Regions from separate parts of the Homo sapiens genome. Here region 2 is linked to region 1. The links are contacts of gene promoters, found by promoter capture Hi-C in blood cells and fetal thymus (Javierre and others, 2016). All regions are on one chromosome and are shown on one strand. Each heading gives the region's core, a stretch centred on a gene start or on the middle of the fragment in contact. The rest is flanking DNA. Distances are from core to core; before and after follow the strand shown.

What was found. Contacts are between HindIII fragments. The CHiCAGO score rates a contact against its expected background, and 5 or more counts as called.
Region 2: a fragment that was not itself captured here is called in contact with the fragment with the promoter of DIAPH2 in region 1 in 2 of 17 cell types (monocytes and total B cells); the score reaches 5.5 in monocytes.

Annotation. Positions count from the first base shown.
Region 1 is chrX:96,683,462-96,686,185 of GRCh38, forward strand. DIAPH2 (diaphanous related formin 2) reads left to right here and starts at 1,381. Exons shown (of 27, transcript NM_006729.5): 1 at 1,381-1,729. The coding sequence starts at 1,598. RefSeq lists enhancers at 1,169-1,884, 1,885-2,598. The HindIII fragment of the contact is 2,760 bases long and covers 572-2,724 here.
Region 2 is chrX:96,994,523-96,997,246 of GRCh38, forward strand. The region is part of intron 17 of DIAPH2 (diaphanous related formin 2); the gene reads left to right. Among named protein-coding and RNA genes, the nearest start is that of RPA4, 110 kb to the left of the region's middle. The HindIII fragment of the contact is 3,003 bases long and covers 1-2,724 here.

The DNA of each region.
Region 1 (2,724 bases), core at 131-2,630:
GGAAACTCTGTCTCAGAATTAAAAAAAAAAGAAAGTTAATGACAATGACAAAGCTAGAATTAAAGCTGTTTTCAGATATCTGGTGTTCTTTTCATTCTACTGCCCAAGTTAGCTGTCTCCTTGCACCTATAGCATGGTCAAATGCATCCTAATGCACTCTCAATAAATATGTTCAGATACAAATTCCATTCAGCATATTAAATTTAGGCCGAAGGGGAGAAGGTCAAAAGGAGTCATAGTCTGGAGATATCTTCAGTAATAGGTGTATGGCATGTTTATAGATTTCATATTTAAATTTACTTTATAGGTAGCTTTCCTAGCATATGTGCTCCTATTCTATGATGGTGGTTCATTCAAATCCTACCCACCCCGTCTAATGTTCTCAGTGTGTACCTTTACTTTTAAAGGGCATCATTTAAAGAGGATGGAAGAAATACAGTGTGGGTACTATATTTTGTCCTGAGGACAAAATGCTAGGTATGACGCAAGGACTTAAGACTATCGTCCCAACAGTGCCCTGCTGCTGCACAAAAACACCTAGCATTTGTCTAGGGATTTTCATTTACAACAAAGCTTTGACACACATGATCTTATTCACTCCCCACAACAACTCTAAACTAGTTCGGGAACCTGAAAATAGCACTCAATTCAATTGCTAGCTGTATGTAAGTGTTTTGGTTATAGAACCTAACAATCCCCTAGGGATTAAGCGGTGGGCGCCTGCTGCTTCAACAACCCTGCAGCAAGGGAATAAAGGAACAACTGTATTTCTTCGGTCACAACGTAATCACGACAACAGAAAGCACTCACTCTTTCCACTCTGACCCACACACAGTCTGTCGAGGCAATTAATCAGCACTCCCGGTGGTTTTCCTATAGGATGCCAGTTCCCTTGCCAATCAAGTCTTTCCACAGACTGTAGCAGGACCACACCCCCGGAGAGGCCTCAGGGAGGGAAGGTGCTGTGGCCCACAGAAGTGAAAGCTGATACTCAGGTTGACCCGCCAGTGAAACTTACAGGCGGATCTTCCCGGGCCTCAGTTTCCCCATCTCTAAAATGGGCTACCCTTCCTTTCTCTTGACTAGTTCCCTCCCTGTTCTCGCTGGGCCACTAGGAAGTGAAATCAGTGCCTAACCGCAGCTGAAAGTGCTCTGTTAGGCTCCAGTCACCGCGCCGGGCATGCTCAGTAGCTGGGGCCGGCTCGGCTGCGGGAGTAGGAAGCAGCTTTGCGCGCCCGGGCGGCCGATGCGGGCACTTTGAAGAATCACGTGTGTTGAGGCCCTCTTAAAGAGATAGGCACCTACTTTTCCCTCCACCCTAAACACCGCCCTGAGGGCGGCGGCGACCGTGGTAATTGCAACTGCTCAGGGGCAGGGCTTGCCCCAGCGCCGAGTAGTGGCAACGGCGTGGTTGCGTCGGGGGTGCCTGGGAGCCTGGAGTCCCGGGGGCCTGAAATCGGCAGCTTCCCGGGCAGACACTCTCTCCCTCAGGAAGAGGTGCCGCCGAGTCAGCGCGGGGCAGTGTGAGCGCCCCGAGGTGCTTTCTCAGTTGAGGAGAGGTGGGGTTACAGGGCACAGGTGACAGGGCCGGAGAAAGATGGAGCAGCCCGGGGCGGCGGCGTCGGGAGCGGGAGGCGGCAGCGAGGAACCCGGTGGGGGCCGGAGCAACAAGCGGAGCGCGGGGAACCGGGCCGCCAATGAAGAGGAAACGAAAAACAAACCCAAATTGGTGAGTGCTCCCGCAGCCCCCGCCGGCCTTAGGGACAGGGAGAGCCCCGGGATCCTCCTGCCATTGAACACGGGGGCACCCGGGGCCCCCTCCCAAGGATGACCGCGACCTCGCTGTGCAACTCGGGGAGCCGCTAAAGGAGTGGCCACGCCGAGGCGCGGAGACGGCGTGGGGGCGGAAGAGCACCCCCTTCTCTACTTAACCCCTTTCTCACTCTTGTCAGCCCGGGAGGCGGTGCGGGAAGGAGAAAGGCCCAGCCCCAACTTGGGGACACCCCGAGTACTGGGTAGGGCTGTTGTTTGTCTAACTTGTGGGCGCAAACCTTTGCGCGATTCCATTCTCCTCCCACTTCTTGTTAGTTGCTGTTTTGCCTCCTAACGCGTAGGGTCCGGGGCAGGGGAACCTCCCTCCTTTTTATTCCAAGTCCTTGGGAGCCCACCTACAGCTTCGCAAATCAAGAAGAACACTATTTATGCTCCCAGTCTTTCTACTTTACCAGAAATCTCAGGAAGAGGCGCCTACGTGCCTTTTTCCTCCTCCTTGCCTCTCTCCATGTGCTCTCCCAAGAAATGTTTCTTTGGAAGGGTGGGGGCGCGTGGGAGTTTGAGGCTGGGTGAGGTACCACCAACTGTCGAGTGTGTGTAATAGGCATAGTCATACAGTACTTCCACTTAGTTGATTAAGAACGCTCAAAAGCAGTAGGCACAAACTGTGCAAATCTCACCGTGCTGATAGTGTGAACCGATGGTAGCAGTCCATTTCCTGCCACTGAATGTGCAGAGGAATGAAATCGATGAGGCCTGGTATTGCATTGGGAAATACTGGAGTTTCCTCAGCTCATCAGAAGGGTTCCGCTTTTTGTAAACTTTCTAATTTGGGTGGTGTGAGGGGAAAGGGTTTTCCTGTACAAATTCAGCAGATACTCCTTAGAGCTGTATTCTTAGTCCAGATCCGAAGCACAAGCCACATGTTGAATGTATAGATTTCAGCTTTAA
Region 2 (2,724 bases), core at 127-2,626, 310 kb after region 1:
AGTCCATCCACGTATGTATGGAATTTAAAACCATGAGAATGTATAAAATTACTGTATTAGTCCATTCTCACATTGGTATAAGGAAATACATGAGACAGGGTAATTTATAAAGGAAAGAGGTTTAATTGACTCACAGTTCAGCATGGCTGGGGAGGCCTCAGGAAACTTACAATCATGGCAGAAGGTGAAGGGGAAGCAAGGCACCTTCTTCACAAGGCAGCAGGAAGGAGAAGTGCCAAAAGAAGCAGGAAGAGCCCCTTATAAAACTATTCAGATGTCATGAGAACTCACTCACTGTCATGAGAACAGCATGGGTGAAACTGCCCCCATGATTCAATTACCTCTACTTGGTCTCTCAGTTGACACGTGGGGATTATGGGGATTACAATTCAAGATGAGATTTTGGTGAGGATACAAAGCCTAACCATATCAATTACCTGAAGAAGAACTGTAGAAAGAGAAAAATAAAGAGGGCCCAGGATTAATTGCTGAATGCTAACATTTGAAGGGCCAATGGGAGGAAGAGCAGCCAGCAAAGAAAATGCCAACAAAGAAGTGGCAAAATGAAGAACAATATGATATAATAAATGCCGGGAGAAGAAACTGTTTCAGGAAGAAAGGAGGGACTAGTTTCGTCGTGTAGATTATTGCTTAAAGTCAGATAAAGGCAGCAAATATATTTTAGGTTTGGCAGTATCAAGAATGTTATTGATCTTAATGCATTATTTTCTAACACTTAGTGTAGATGGAAGCCAGATTGGAATTCTTTGGAGTTTAGGACCATTGGAGGTATCTGTTGATGTCAGTCATTGAGATAATACAGGAGGAATGTAACGTTTGTTAAGAGAAAGAAAGAATGAATTGTTAAATCCTATTGAATATGATAAGCAGCTGGAGATGTTCAGCAACTAGCAAAGCATATGATCTGGAACTCACAGACCAGTCTGGGCTGAGGCTAAGGATTTTGAAGGTATTCAGTAGTTGAAGCCTCACTGGGTATTCTCAGCCACATTTCAAAATAAAATTGGGTCCAATTTATTATGGAAAATTGGCAAATTTTATTAATATATAATACCTTACAGCAGTACACACATCACAGTTTACAAAGGAGACAGTTGACAAATGAATGAAATGTGTTAGTTTAGCCCTCTCTAAAGATTAATTATTTGAATACACTCTAATATTGGTTAAGGCAGTTAATACCTGAAGAGTATATTTTCTTTTTTTTTTTCTCAGTTAAGTGGCTGTAGGCTACTGTCTTATAGGCAGTAATGTGTAGAAGATTGTAGCTCAGAAGAATATATGAAGAGTATATTTTCTGAGTCTGGGATCCTAGTTAATATTAAAAAAATGTGACATCAGGCATTCATATAAAATCCAAACCTAATCAAAGCAGATAGTCCTATTTAAATAACTAGGCTTGAAAAAAAGAAAGGGTTAACAACTCAAATCTTGAATTTGTTTCCATTGTATTTACACCCTAGATTTCTATGAAGTGCCACATTACATTATATGCTTATTTATCTCTACTCTTCACCTAGAGATAAAATACAGTCAGACAAATAGCTGAGAATCTGAAATTCAAAGCAGTTCTTTTGAAAGTTAATTCTCCAGTAAGTTTCTCCAGTAAGTTTCATCCTCAGATTGCTTCATTCACAATGGAGTATAATGGTTGGTTGGAAATGTGGAAATGACCATTTTTGATTTAAATTACTTTTGTCACACAGTTTTTGATACTAGCAAAGAAAACATTGAATATGATTGACCTAGTTAATTTTAATTTCATACAATTCATAAAAGTTATGTTAGTAATTTTACAGAGTAAAACCTTTATCCATTTATGCTTCTGAAAAATGACCTTGTAAAATGTCAGAATTGCCATGGTATGCTTTTGAAAAATACTTAATGATTTGTGCTTGATGCATTTAAACTCTTTATTGAAGGTCAAGGATTCTATTAGGGCATTTTTGTCAGTAAAATGTTGACAGAAATGAACTAGGTAGTTGAATTCTCACTGACAATACTGTCACAATTGTTAAGAAATTGTCTAATGATAAGGCCAGATTTTGCTCATTATTTTTCTTAGTAACTACCACTAGTTCATTAAATATTGCCTTAATTAGAGTGTGTGTTAAGTGTCAAAACTTAATGGTCACAGTCACAATCCTTATTTAATAGATACTTAGTTTGAATTGCTATAGTTATATTATTCTCAATGACTGTGTATATATGCCATGCATTTGGATGAGATGGAATTGTGTGGGTATTCCAAAAGCACTGATGATTATGTTGATTTCAGTGTATTTTTGATATTCGATATTGAGCTTAGATACCCACAGTTTGATCTGTGAAATCACATTCCAAACTAGTAAAGCCACAAAATAAAAGCAATGAAGTAAAGCTGGGATATATTCTTATTTTCTTATTTATAACTCTTTCCTATCACCTAATCAGTGCAGTATATTTTGCGAACAGTCAGATTTGTTGCCACCTAAAATAAGAGTTGCAGTTGTTTCATGGTGATAGTTTTTCTCACCTCTGACCTCGTTAAGGAGATGGTTATAAACACAATTGTTTTAAAGGCCTAATAAGACATGTGAATATAGTGTAAAAAAAATCTTGGGATTATCTCTTTTATTTATGTCAGTGATTACTTGAATGGAAAATTCCTAGGTTAGTCTGTACAAAGATCACATTCCTCTGTGTATTTTTGTTATCTATACT